2 separate regions of the Homo sapiens genome follow, and region 2 is linked to region 1. The links are contacts of gene promoters, found by promoter capture Hi-C in human tissues and cell types (Jung and others, 2019). All regions are on one chromosome and are shown on one strand. Each heading gives the region's core, a stretch centred on a gene start or on the middle of the fragment in contact. The rest is flanking DNA. Distances are from core to core; before and after follow the strand shown.

Region 1 (7,593 bases), core at 4,834-7,333:
CTACCTGGATGGGCATAAGACCAAGACCAGTCCCATGAGGTGCCTCCGCAGGAGGGCACAACAGGTTTTCCTGGGGATATGTGTTTTGGGATAGGAGCCTTCCACACAGGTTTGAGGGCCTACGCTTTTGAGAAACTTGAAACTACTTCTCACTTGCCCCAAAGCCTACACCACTACCTGGGAAAGGACTCAGCCACCCTACATAAGCTGGGGCTGGGTCAAAGCTCTAAATGACTATGTATTGGGCACCTACTAGGAGCCAGGTGCTGTTTTAAGTGATGGGGATACAGCAGTGAACAAATCCTTGCCCTTGTAGAGCTGACACTCTAATGGGAGTTCACATACAAGAAGTAATAAACAGGTCAGGCGTGGTGGCTCAGGCCTGTAATCCTAGCACATTGGGAGGCTGAGGCAGGCAGATTGTCCTGAGGTCAGGAGTTCGAGACCAGCCTGGGCAACATGGTGAAACCCCATCTCTATTAAAAATACAAAAAATTAGCCAGTGTGGTGGCGTGCGCCTGTAATCCCAGTTACTCGGGAGGCTGAGGCAGGAGAATTGCTTGAACCCAGGAGACGGAGGCTGCAGTGAGCCAAGACCAAGTCATTGCATTCCAGCCTGGGCGACAGAGTAAGACTCTGTCTCAAAAAACAAACAAGCAAAAAAAAAAGTCACCTTCTCAATAAGACCTCCCCTGCTTATAATGGTGACCCACCTCTTCCACCAGTGTTCTGGATTCCCTTATTCTAATCTATTTAGAGGCCTGCCTCGGCCTCCCAAAGTGTTGATTACAGTGTGAGCCACTGCTCCTGGCCGTGAGAAGTGACTTTTGAGCAAAGACGTGAAGGACTAAGCAGGCAGCCAAGTGGATATTGGGAACAAGAGCCTCTGAGGGGGGCAGAAGGAACAGCCAGGCACAGGTTCTGAGGTGACACTGTGCTATGCATGTTGCAGCAACAAGACAAAAGCCACCACGGCTGCAGCAGAGAGAAAGGCCAGGCCTCCCTTAGTGCTGGCCTAAGCCACTGTCAGCTGGAGGCCCAACATACCTGGATTGTGAGCTGTCTGGCCAGAAGAGCCCCGACGGTGTCACACAGACTGGTCAGGAGGCAGCACGCAGCACACAGTGCCGACTGGTCCTGTCTGGGTTTCTGTGCACATCTCAGATAGAGAAGCCTGGGGTGACAGGGGTGTGGACAGAACACAGCAACTGTGAGTTTGGACCCAAACGCATGTATCTAAAAAGGGCAACTGTGACCCCGCATCGTCAGGGAGCTCTTTCTGCCCGAGGTATTTAGGACGTGTTTTTGAACTGAGTTTACAGATGGGAACCAATCAGAAGACTCCAGAGCCGCCTGTCCAGATGCCCATGGCAGGAGCTAGACCTCGTGAGATGTGAAGACACCGCCTCTTTGGAGGAAGAGGAATTTTACTTTCCGACTCCAAATCAGGACGGCTCCATTTGATGACCCCCCACCTAGCACTGAAAAAGCAGCCATCGGGTTTTATTTTTTGAAAAGGAAACAGGAGGGTTATAAAAGTAACTCAGGCTGGGTATGGTGGCTCACACCTGTAATCCCAGCAGTTTGGGAGGCCGAGGCAGGAGGATCCTCTGAGGTCAGGAGTTCGAGACCATCCTGGCCAACATGGTGAAACCCCGCCCCTACTAAAAATACAAAAATTAGCCGGGTGTGGTGGCGTGCGCCTGTAATCCCAGCTACTCCGGAGGCTGAGGCAAGAGAATTGCTTGAACCCAGGAGGCAGAGGTTGCAGTGAGCCAAGATCACACCATTGCACTCCAGCCTGGGTGACAAAGCGAGACTCCGTCTCAAAAAAAAAAAAAAGCAACCCAACCACTGCAGATAACTGCAGAGCACAGTTAATTGCCTGAATTAAAAAGACAACTTGTTTCTCTGAAATAAATTCAAACGAAATTCTTCTAAACCATCTGTGAAGTGGGGCAGCCTGGCTTCTGCTGGCCTGTGTCCATGTTCTTTAAACACAGAGCCCTTTTGGCACTTGGAGCTGTCCCTCCCTCAGCGCCCCCACAGCCACTTCTCCCCTTACAGCCCCTCCCCAGTCCATATCCACTGGAGAAGATGCACGGAAGGGCAGGAAGGGGCTGGCTGTTTCTATCAGCGTCACTGATAGGGCCTCTGAAATACGTTGTTGTACATGCCTCCCGAAGGGGCTGGCTGTATCTATCGGCGTCACTGATAGGGCCTCTGAAATACATTGTCGTACATGCCTCCTGAAGGGGCTGGCTGTTTCTATCGGCGTCCCTGATAGGGCCTCTGAAACACGTTGTCGTACCTGCCTCCCGAAGGGGCTGGCTGTTTCCATCGGCGTCACTGACAGGGCCCCTGAAATAATACGCTGTCGTACCTGCCTCCCGGAGGGGCTGGCTGTTTCCATCGGCGTCACTGATAGGGCCCCTGAAATAATACGCTGTCGTACCTGCCTCCCGGAGGGGCTGGCTGTTTCCATCGGCGTCACTGATAGGGCCCCTGAAATAATACGCTGTCGTACCTGCCTCCCGAAGGGGCTGGCTGTTTCCATCGGCGTCACTGATAGGGCCCCTGAAATAATACGCTGTCGTACTGCCTCCCGAAGGGGCTGGCTGTTTCCATCGGCGTCACTGATAGGGCCCCTGAAATAGTATGCTGTCGTACCTGCCTCCAGAAGGGGCTGGCTGTTTCCATCGGCGTCACTGATAGGGTCCCTGAAATAATACGCTGTCGTACCTGCCTCCCGAAGGGGCTGGCTGTTTCCATCGGCGTCACTGATAGGGCCCCTGAAATAATACGCTGTCGTACCTGCTTCCCGAAGGGGCTGGCTGTTTCCATCGGCGTCACTGATAGGGCCCCTGAAATAATACGCTGTCGTACTGCCTCCCGAAGGGGCTGGCTGTTTCCATCGGCGTCACTGATAGGGCCCCTGAAATAGTATGCTGTCGTACCTGCCTCCAGAAGGGGCTGGCTGTTTCCATCGGCGTCACTGATAGGGCCCCTGAAATGATACGCTGTCGTACCTGCCTCCCGAAGGGGCTGGCTGTTTCCGTCGGCATCACTGATAGGGCCCCTGAAATAATACGCTGTCGTACTGCCTCCCGAAGGGGCTGGCTGTTTCCATCGGCGTCACTGATAGGGCCCCTGAAATAGTATGCTGTCGTACCTGCCTCCAGAAGGGGCTGGCTGTTTCCATCGGCGTCACTGATAGGGCCCCTGAAATGATACGCTGTCGTACCTGCCTCCCGAAGGGGCTGGCTGTTTCCATCGGCGTCACTGATAGGGCCCCTGAAATAGTATGCTGTCGTACCTGCCTCCAGAAGGGGCTGGCTGTTTCCATCGGCGTCACTGATAGGGCCCCTGAAATGATACGCTGTCGTACCTGCCTCCCGAAGGGGCTGGCTGTTTCCGTCGGCGTCACTGATGGGGCCTCTGAAATACGTTGTCGCACGTGCCTCCTGGAGGGGCTGGCTGTTTCCGTCGGCATCACTGATAGGGCCTCTGAAATAATACGCTGTCGTACCTGCCTCCCGAAGGGGCTGGCTGTTTCCGTCAGCGTCACTGATGGGGCCTCTGAAATACGTTGTCGCACATGCCTCCTGGAGGGGCTGGCTGTTTCCGTCGGCATCACTGATAGGGCCTCTGAAATAATACGCTGTTGTACCTGCCTCCCGAAGGGGCTGGCTGTTTCCGTCGGCATCACTGATAGGGCCTCTGAAATAATACGTTGTCGCACGTGCCTCCCGAAGGGGCTGGCTGTTTCTATTGGCGTCACCGATAGGGCCTCTGAAATACGTTGTCATACCTGCCTCCCGAAGGGGCTGGCTGTTTCCCTCAGCGTCACTGATAGGGCCTCTGAAATATGTTGTCGTACCTGCCTTCCGAAGGGGCTGGCTGTTTCTATCGGCGTCACTGATAGGGCCTCTGAAATACATTGTCGTACCTGCCTCCTTGCTACATTTCTCTGGAGACACCGAGACAGGGTGGCAGCGCTGGCTTCATTTCCACTCAGCAGAGGGTGGTGCTCATTCCACATCCTTAGGACGATTTAGCTGATTCTGAGCGCCTGTCCTTGGGAATGGTGGATGAGTACAGAGGGCTCTTGGCTTTCTAAACATTTCCTGACCTGCTGGCCCAAGCCTGAAGCTCACAGTGGCAACATCAACTTCAGTCTGGGCCCTGGGCTCCTAAAACCAATTGAAGACCAAGGAGTGGAGATTCTTAAATTGGAGACTCCCAGAGGCGGACCCCAATTAGAAATAATTTATATCAACCCTCCCATTTGAGAGGACAAAACTGAGGCCTCTGGTGAGAAGGTGAGTTAATGGTGGTCTTCTGGCTTCACACGCGGGGGCTTTGCTCCGTACCCTGTTGTTCTCAGCCACTTCCCCAGCTCTTGGGGCCAGGGTGCCAGCTGACCTTAACCCAGCCCACACACCACTCCGAAGACACATTCTTCTAAGAGAAAGGGGAGCAGGGGAGGTTCAGGGATGGCAAGGCCCTGAAAACAAATGGGTATGTCCAGATCCCAGGCAGGGTGAGAAGCAGAGGCTCACTCTTAACCCCTCCAAGGTTGGCAAAGTGCCTAACAGTGCTGGTCTGAGGACAACTGTGAGGAACAAAAGGATAATGCGTGTCCAGCGCCTTGTTAGTTTCCAGCCTCTGATCTGAACAGTTTAATCTCTCTTACCAGCCTGCCCCTTTCCAATAGGATCTGGGGTTTTGGTTCTTTCCTTTCACTCAGACAAGTTATTTAACCTCTCAGAACCTCAGGGTTCCCTACAGAAAGTGGGGGTAACAGCACCTACCTCCTGGTGCTGATATTGTGAGTGGCAGGCATTGAATGAGTTAATGAATGCAACACTGGGCCTACAGTAAATGTTCTAGGCGTCTTTTTATTTGTATTGCAGTACTGGGTAGTGGGGCTGCAGAATCTCTGCAATACGACCAAACGCCTTAGGAGAATATCCACTGAGTGCCTACAGGGAGACAGTTCTAACCTCTCCCAGGGGTGCTGGTCCTTTCTCCCCTGCCAGGGAATGCTTGGGCGGCACCATCCTGAGCACTGCTAGTGGATTTCCATGCCTAGGACAGAGCGGCTGAGGACCTGGAGATTCACTCTTAGAACTTAGGCTACCGTGGGCATCTGGACAAACCAGTCCAGGTGCTGGACAGACCAGGGCAAAGACAGGCCAGCTGGATCATATCACTACCTCCCTTCCCACCTAAGAGGACTTTGGGTAAACTGAGGCCAGAAACATCAAGGGACTTGCCAAGGTCCTAAGAGTTGGTGGCCTAGCTGGAGCAATACAAATGATGTTTAATGAGCATTTACTAAGTGCTTTAACGGTACTGATTCATCGAATCCTCCCATCATCCTATGAGGTATTATCTCCGGTCATAGGAGGCCCAGAGAGGTTCTGGAGCTTGCCCAGGTCACACTGCGAGTCAATGGCGAAGGGCTGACAATAGCACCCAGGGCTCGCGGTGTCCTCGGGGCCCCATCCGCTGCACCACCCAGCCTCCTCCCTTTGGCTCACAGCCCAGCTTCCCTGTGCGTGGGATCCGGAAAGAAGATCCCACTTCAGTCTACAGAGCAATGTTCCATTGGATCCTATTACTGAGCCATCTCCTTCATCCCCCTTTCCGCCCCCTCCTCTAGGTTTCCGAGAGGGAGCAGCAGGGGATTGGCGCCCGTTTCCCCGCCCGACAGCCCCCCGACCCGTGGCCCCATTACAGCGCGTGGGCGGCGATCCAGCAGGAGGAGGCGCAGATCCACAGGCCGAAGGAGATGCAGACGCGGTGGCGGGCGAAGCAGCGGTCCAGGTAGTCCCAGTCCCAGAGCGCGGGCGCGGGGCTGGGCGCCTCCCCCATGGCGCGGCTGGGCGCGCGGCGCGGGGCCGGGGACCTGGGCGCAGCCTCCCTCGCCGCGGGCAAGCCCCGAGCGCCGCCGCCCCGCGTGCCCTTCTCTGGGTTCCGTTCCGCCGCGGCGCCTCCGGCCGAGCGCACCGACCGCGGGCAGAGAAGGGCGCGCTCCCGGGCGCGGGCGGCGGCGGCGAAGGCGCCGGGGAAAAGTTTCCGGGACCGCGCGCTCCCCACCCCTCGCGCTATTGTCGGGGGTCGGCAGGGCGGAGGCCGCCCCCCAGCGGCGGGAGCCGGGAGCTGCGCGCGCACAAAGACTGCGGCCCCCGCCCCCCGCCGACCTCTTCGCGGTCACCCACCTCCAACATCCTGGCCGGAGCGGGGCGGGCGGCTGGGCTCGCGGACGGCCGAGTCCCTGCCGGTCGCTGTAAGGCACGGCGTCCCTTCCTGCGTATTGTCCACATTTCCTGAGCCAACAGCAATTAGTTGCGCTGCTGAAGCGCATGGGTGCTGGGATCCCGAGGTGAAGGGGGCGTGGTCCTGATCGCCGACAGGGCGCAGTAAAAAGGGTGGGGTGCAAGACCAGGAAGGAGGAAACAAACGTGCCGGAGAACAAATACCCCCACATCTGCCTCTCACTCTCCTTTCTGAAGCTGCCAACGGCACCCTCCGCCCCCAGGCAGTCGCCCAAGCCCTGCTCCTGGATGTCATCCTAGCCCACGGCCCCGCAGCCAAGAGCTGGTTATCTCTGCAACCGGCCGCCTCCTGTCCAGCCACACACCGCACAGTTCAAGTACACAGGGCTGTTTTTCTTGAGAGTAAACTATTATTGTAATTTTTAAATCTCCTTATTGATTTTAGTAGGTTTGTTTAAAGCAAGACATGACTTGAAAACAATATTTCTATAGAAGGAGCAGGATTGAAAAAAAGAAAAAAAATCTTTTTTAATTTTCAAAAACTACAGCTTTATTTAGATATTATTTATATGCCATAAGCATAGTCTTTTTTTTTTTTTTTTTTTTTGAGACAGAGTCTCACTCTGTTGCCCAGGCTGGAATGCAATGGTGCGATCTCAGCTCCCTGCAGCCTCCGCCTCCCAGGTTCAAGCAATTCTCCTGCCTCCGCCTCCCAAGTAGCTGGGACTACAGGTGCCCGCCACCACACCCGAGTAATTTTTGTATTTTTAGTAGAGACGGTGTTTCACCATGTTGGCCAGGCTGGTCTTAAACTCCTGACCTCGTGATCTGCCCTCCTCAGCCTCTTAAAGTGCTGGGATTACAGGTGTGAGCCACCACATCCAGCCTACATAGTACTTTTAAAATGTACAATTCTGGCCAGGCACGGTGGCTCACAACTGTAGTCCCTGCACTTTGGGAGGCTGAGGCAGGCGGATCACTTGAGGTCAGGAGCTCAAGACCGGCCTGGCCAACATGGTGAAACACTGTCTCTACTAAAAATACAAAAATTAGCCGGGCATGGTGGTGCGCGCCTGTAATCCCAGCACTTTGGGAGGCCGAGGCAGGTGGATCACTTGAGGTCAGGAGTTTGAGACCACCCTGGCCAACATGGTGAAACCCCATCTCTACTAAAAACACAAAAATTAGCCAGGCATGATGGCAGGCGCCTGTAATCCCAGCTACTCGGGAGACTGAGGCAGGAGAACTGCTTGAACCTGGGAGGCGGAGATTGCTGTGAGCTGAGATGGCGCCACTGCACTCCAGCCTG
Region 2 (7,312 bases), core at 2,788-5,287, 330 kb after region 1:
CAATCTCCTGCCTCGGCCTCCCAAAGTGCTGGGATTACAGGCATGAACCACCATGCCTGGCCTTGGCTTATCTTTAGATAGTAACGTTTGACTCCCCTTTATGGAGGATTAGGAATTCAGCACCCTCACAACACCTCTTGCCTCTCCATGTCACAGCCCAATTTTATTATTTATATCGCTCTTTTTAATTGTTTTAGTGATTACTCCTATTACTTTCAATAATCTACCTAAAAATCTGCCTTGATTTATTCACTTTATACAGCATTCCTTAACTCCCCACTGTGAAAGGTGAGGGTAGCAGTGAAGCCCTCTTTTTCCTACCTCTCTTGCACTAACTCCTGATGGTCTAATAATGTTTCATAATTTCAAGGTTTGTAACATTTGCATGCTTATTCTGTGGCTATTTAAGTGTTAAAGTTTGAAAACCAATGAACAGCATTGTGAACATATGAACCTTTTTTACTGAAGAACCAAATAATACGATCAGACCTAGAGAGAAAAAGAAAATGTAATTCACTGTCATGATCCCTGTGACATTCTCAGGAGGCTCTTCTATGGAGTGAAGAGTCTAGTGGAGTGTAATGGTTCATTTTATGTGTCCACTTGACTGGGATATGGGTTACCCAGATAGCTGGTAAAACATTATTTCTGAGTGTGTCTGGGAGGGTCCTTCCCGAGAAGAGATTGGCATTTGAATTGGTAGACTAAGTAAAGATGGCCCTGAGCAATGGGGGTGGGCATCATTTAATCCATTGAGGACACAAATAGAGCACAAAGGCAGAGGAAGGGTAATTGACTCCCTCTTCTTCAGCTGGGCCGTCCATCTTCTCCTGCCCTCAGATATTACAGCTCCTGGATCTCAGGCCCTGGGAATCCAGGATTTGCACCAGCGGCACCACCAGGCATTTGACCTCATGGCCTCAGACTGGGAGTCTATACCATCGGATCGCCTGGTTCTCAGGCCTTAAGACTACAACTGAGTCACACCACTAGCTTTCCTGGTACTCCATATTAGAGATGGTATTTCATGAGACTCTTCAGCCTCTATAATCACACGAGCCAATTTTCATAATAAATCTCCTTTTGTGTCTGTCTATCTATCTATTCTATTGGTTGTGTTTCTCAGGAGAACCTTGACTAATACATGGAAATTCTTATTTTTCTTTCCACTTTTTTCACTGCTTCTGGGTCAATTCCAGCTGCACAGTTTTTGTTTTTGTTTTTCTGAGACGGAGTCTTGCTCTGTCGTCCAGGCTGGAGTGCAATGGCATGATCTTTGCTCACTGCAACCTCTGCCTCCCAGGTTCAAGCAATTCTCCTGCCTCAGCCTCCCCGAGTAGCTGGGATTACAGGTGCCTGCCACCATGCCCAGCTAATTTTGTATTTTTAGTAGAGATGGGGTTTCACCGTGTTGGTCAGGCTGGTCTTGAGCTTCTGACCTCAGGTGATCCACCCACCTCGGCCTCCCAAAGTGCGGGGATTACAGGTATAAGCCACTAGGCCTGGCTTGTTTTTTTTGTTTTTTGTTTGTTTGTTTTGTTTTTTTGTTCTTGTTGTTGTCTCTCATGTCATCCTCCTTTAAAATTCTTTTTTAGTTTTGCTAGAGTACTTTCTCAAAATCTGTTTTCATTTAAGAGGCATGACTGGTAACTGTGGTAGGCTCCCAAAATATATTCACATCCTAATCCCTGGAGCCTGTATTAGTTTATGTGGCAAAAAGGGGTTTTTGCAGATGTGACTAAGGATTTTGAGATGGGGAGATGATCCTGCATTGATCAAGTGGGCCCTAAATACAATCACGGATTTTGAGATGGGGAGATGATCCTGCATTGATCAAGTGGGCCCTAAATACAATCACAAATATCTTTACAAGAAAGAGGTAGATGGTGGTTTCTCACACAGACACAGACGAGAAGGTGATTTGAAAATGGATCAGGGAGAGATTTGAAGATGCCAGCCTTAAAGATCAGAGTGGCGCAGCCATAAGCCAAAGAATGCTTGCTCCCAGGAGAGTTGGAACAGGGAAGGGAGGGTTCTCTCCTAGAACCTCCAGAGGGAGCCTGGCACTGCCTATGCCTGGATTTTGGCCCAAGGATACTAACTTCAGACTTCTGTCCTCCAGGATGATGAGAGAATACATTTCTGGTGTTTTAAGCCACCAGGTTTGTGGTAATTTGTTACAGCAGCCACGGAAAATGGATAGAGGGATAGAATAACATTGTAATTTCCTACACACCTGAAGATGACTTTCTGAGCACTGCCCTCTTATTTCCAATTTGAAAGGGTATAAAATTCTACCTCCTATATTAAAGATCATTTTTCTTTAGAATTTTCAGGACATTACACTATGGATGTCTAGCATCCAGGTTAGCAGATGAAAAGAAATCTCATGTCAGCCTGAATCTTGTTATTTTTCAAAATACATATTTTCCCCTGCTCTGCAAACTTACATGCTTTTTATCTTTATCCTTAGAGTTCTGTTGTTCCATCAGTGTGCCTTTAGTTCATAAATCCTTGACATCTGTGGACTGTTTCTATCTGAAGACTCCTGCCTTCTTCAGTTCAGGAAATGTTTCTTCTATTTGTTTTATGTCCATTTTCTATTAAAACTTTTATTAAACAGATATTGAGCCTTCTGATCTATTTTTTATTTCTCTTGACTTTTCTCTGATATTTTCTGTCTTTGTACTTTTGCTCCATATTTTGGAAATTTCCTTTCCAAATGACCAATTTGGTTCTCAGTCTTGTCTGTTACATTATTTAGCTTATCCCATTGAATTTTTGATTTCACCAGTCATGCTTTGAATTTCTAGATCTTTGTTTCTTGTTCTTAGACAACTTTTCATGTAGCAGACTACTTTTTTTTTTTTAGATGGAGTCTCGCTCTGTCTCTAGGCTGTAGTGCAGTGGTGTAATCTCGACTCACTGCAACCTCCGCCTCCCAGATTCAAGCGATTCTCCTGCCTCAGCCTCCCGAGTAGCTGGGACTACAGGTGCACACCACCACGCCCAGCTAATTTTTGTATTTTTTGTAGAGACGGGGTTTCAGCATGTTGGCCAGGATGGTCTTGAACTCCTGACCTTGTGATCCACCCACCCCGGCATTCCAAAGTGCTGGGATTACAGGCGTGAGCCACCGTGCCCGGCCATAGTAGACTACCCTTGCATTATGGGTACAATTGCCTCTTGGTCTCTCTGAGGACACTATTTACAATTTTTTAAAATGTTCTTACTAGTTTCTCGAATTATGTCTGATTCTTCCAGGGCTAGCTGGCTTTTATTTACGATTTTAGTGTCCCTCAAATGTCAAGAGAAAGTAGGCAGAAGGGTGTGAGTTCAGAAAACACACTTGAATTTCAAAACAGGGGCACATGTACAGTTTGGAAACTATATGTATCCATGAAGAGATAAACATACCCCACAGTTTGAGGAAACTCCAAAGGTGATTCTGTTGCAAGTCATGCCCTACCCCCTACCAACACTCCATCTCCATCCACACACTTTGAGAATCAGTGGCCCAAATCAGTGATCTGAAAGAACATTGAAATCCACTAGAGAAATTTTATAAAGTATCTGGGCCTAGGCATCCCGAGGTAAAGCTAGTGCATGCTCAAGATTGTGAATCCCTGGAAGAGACTCTCCGTGAGGCCTTGTCTTTGTAACTGTGGTCCATGGACCAGCAGTGTCGGCATGGCCGTGGAACGCATTAGATGTACAGAATCTCAGCCACCTCCCCTGACCAATGTTCCAAATCAGACTCTGCGTTTAAAAGAGTTCTCAGCGACTGGTAGGCACATTAAAGATGGCAAGCACCGCTTTATGGGAGATTATAAAGCAGTGTGGTATATTTCGAGTGGGACCTCCAGAGCCTGGTAGAGCTGAACTTGAATCCCGACTCTTGCTTAACTAATTCATGAGCACTGGCTACGGAGCACTCAGCACAGTGCCTGCCGCTGCCAGAGGCTCGACAACATTCTTCCCTCCCTCGGCTACTTCTTCCAAGATTCTTTTTCAGGTCTAAGAGAGTGTGGCTCTTCAGCAGAAATATTGCTCCAATGCCTTCATTCCTCTCCTGTCTGTAAAGCAGCTGATTGATCACACTCTTTGATCTTTCCCCTCCTGGTACCATCATGTCACTCTCTCTAGCACTGTCTTAAACGATGGCTTCTGGTCTCACTTGCAAAACTTAATATCGAAATGCTTTTGATATTCAAGCTTCTTTGAAGTCAACCCAATCTGTATTCCAGAGTTAAAAAGACGTTCCGCATCATAGCTCTTCCGCATAGGAATCTGGAGTGTCTGTCGGAAAGACAGCTGTGCTCTCTGCTCTGCTGGTTCCATTTTCCCTGCGAGCTCCCTGAAGAAGCATGGAAATCAATTCCACATCAGATGACACCTTCCTGCGGCTGCAATTCATGTTAAGGACACCTTTGATTCAGTACCAATTCGCTCTTATGGAGCTCACAGCGAACTTCCTCTTGTACTTTCTAATGTGTCCACAGTCCCCCAAGCCACGCTTGAAGCTTGGGTTCAAGACAGAGATGTCTGTTTCTGTTTTACAAATGAGCAAGCAACTACAGAGAGGCTGGGACACTTTCCAAAGAAGAAGCACACAGGATTTTGATGAGCCTAAGTTTCTTAACCAGATCAGTGTTCCAAGAAAATGAGAGGAAATCCTGTCTCCAGCAGCTGGTAGCATCAGGTCTGGAGATAGTTAACCAGCCAGCGTCCCCTTCCTGATGATCCAGGCACTTCAGGAATCACCATCTGCAGCTGGTGAAAGCAAATCACCAGGTGACCGTTTCTAGGAAGAACTCTTGCTCTCTCTTTGTCTTCCTCTCTCTCTGCTCTCCTCCTCGTGCTAACTCAGGGGGCACTCTCTTTCCCAAGTCATAGACACAGAGCTTGCTTCACACATGGGTACTCATCACTTGTCATAATCGCCCAAGGACCCCGAAAAGGGTCACACAATGTGTGCTCATCCCAAATCTGCTCTCTCTCTGTCTCTGTCTACCTCTGCCTGTCTATGTCTGTCTGTCTGTCCATCTCTATCTCTCTTCCTCTCTCTCTTACATACATACACACACTTACAGGAAAACCACCTAGAGCTTCTCTCAACCGCTTTTGGGTAGGACTAGAGGGCTGTCCCGTTGGCAGAAGAAAAATGGGGAGAAGCCATTGCTCCACTATGTTAGAACAATGTTCCTAAGTCTTTAACATGCACACGAATCTCGGTGGTGGGGAGGGTCTCGTTCAATGTCAGATTCTGGCTCAGCAGGCCCATGGCCGGGTCTGAAATTCTGCATTTCTAATAAGCTTCTAGTGGTGCTGAAGCTGCTGGTCTATGGGCCACATGTTGAGTAGCAAGAGATTAGAATGAACTCCCCATCCTGTGGGGATCTGTAGGGGTTACAAGAGGAGGCAGAAGTAGCCCAGGAGAGAGAGCCTGCAGGATGCTGCCTGTTGAGGATGGATGCCCAGAAGGCCCGTGTCTCCTCGTGATTCTGCCACTATGCCTGCTCCATCAATTCAGAAGATGGATACTGACAAGATACAATTAATTTAATGTATTCGGCAGAATGTGTCAGGAAGTCAAAGAAAAAACTCCATGCACATCTCAGTAAGGACTGTTAAGACATTTGATAACATTTACATCGATTTCTGAAATAAAGGGAAAATATACTCCCTTTATGTGATAATATCTCTTCTAAACCAACTTCAAACATAACACCTAATGGCCGTTACTAGAAACAATCTTATTAAAGTCAAGGACAGGCAAGAATATCTGTTAATTAACACTCTTCTAAAATGTGGGACCAAAGCATATAAACCAGAAATAAAAAGTGTAGCTATAGAAAAGAAAGAGGAGACACAGTTATAATTTGCAGATGGTATAATCATCATCCCATAAAACCTAAGACTCATCGGAAAATTCTTGGAATTAATGAAAGAGCTTGATGAAGTAATAGAATACATAAGAAGCATAAAAAGCAATAACTTTCATGCACACATATCTAGTGATCAGTTCAGGAATATGTGTGAAAGTTTCCTTTCACACAGGACAATGAAAATAAGACCAAAATGTAGAAATTAACGTCAATTGTTCATTTTAATTTTAATTAGTTAACAATCAATAAAACATAAAACTTTACAAAGAGATATAAAAGACTTGGGTGTGGTGAGGACACCCGTGCTTCCAAATTTTGTTGCTGTTGTCTCTTCTGCTGTACTATTTGTCCTTGTACATTTATGCCTTGAAAAAATCCAATATGTTGTCTCTAATGTTATCAGACAGCAATCACCTAAGGGGCCTGGATGAAATAAACCACCGGTATTGACTGTATATATTACAGCGCAAATCCACTACCAAGAGAAATGAGGAGGGAGAAGAAAAAAGCAGGGGATGGGAGGAAAAGAGAGTGTGGTTTAGGCCATAGGGGGGTTTTGTGGGGGGAGGGGAACGTGGGATATTTTTTCTCTTAAATGACATCTTCTAAGAAGGTGCATCTCCTTTGCAAGAATGTATCTCCTTTGCAAAGCAAGCTGACACTAAGTAACAAGAGTCCTGAAAGTATTCAAACTCTTTAACCCAACAATCTCACCATTTGAATCTATCCCAAGGAATAACTTTAAAATCTCAAATAAACCTCATAACAAAGATGTTCACCAAAACATATTTATGATAACAAAAAAATGAAGATAATTTAAATGCCCAACAGTGGAAACGTTTCAGGAGCCTATAGTGCATCTATTTGGTAAGATATGTTACACAATCATTGAAAACAATGCTTGCCAAGTGTGATAAAAACACAGGAAACATTCACCTTCAACAAAAAGGCTGCATAAAATTCAATATGTACCATCCTCAAAAACATTAAAAAGCTTTGCCTAGAAAAGGAATGAAAGGACATGCCCCAAAATGTTAACACTGAGTAGTTTTAATTTTCTCTGTTTCTACTTTTCTAAAATGAGCAAGTATTTCCTCTTAAAGTATACAATCCAATGGTTCAGTATATTCAGTCTGTGCAACCACTGCCAACATCAATTTTAGAACATTTTCATCATCTCAGAAATAAACCCTATACATTTTGGCTATCACCCTCAGCCCCCAATCCCCTCAGCCCTGAGCAACCACTAAGCTCTGGGTCTCTTTATAGATTTTCTTATTCTGGATATTCCGTATAAATGGAATCATACAATACGTGGCCTTTGGTGACTGGCTTCTTTCACTTCCTTCAAGGTTCATCCGTGTTGAGGCATGTATTAACACGTTATCCCTTTTGATGGCCAAATAATATTCCATTGTATGGAT

The links. The method cuts DNA at HindIII sites, captures the fragments that hold promoters and counts their contacts. A contact is called where the count stands out against the background at its distance.
Region 2: a fragment that was not itself captured here is called in contact with the fragment with the promoter of TMEM44 in region 1 in 2 of the 25 tissues and cell types used here (spleen and thymus).

The regions. Positions count from the first base shown.
Region 1 is chr3:194,627,336-194,634,928 of GRCh38, forward strand. TMEM44 (transmembrane protein 44) reads right to left here and starts at 6,084. Exons shown (of 10, transcript NM_001011655.3): 1 at 5,744-6,084; 2 at 1,048-1,174. The coding sequence starts at 5,880. TMEM44-AS2 (TMEM44 antisense RNA 2) reads left to right here and starts at 5,593. Exons shown (of 2, transcript NR_186047.1): 1 at 5,593-5,832. RefSeq lists a silencer at 5,853-6,282. The HindIII fragment of the contact is 16,299 bases long and covers 1-7,593 here.
Region 2 is chr3:194,962,960-194,970,271 of GRCh38, forward strand. No RefSeq gene overlaps it. Among named protein-coding and RNA genes, the nearest start is that of XXYLT1-AS1, 130 kb to the right of the region's middle. The HindIII fragment of the contact is 4,123 bases long and covers 1,977-6,099 here.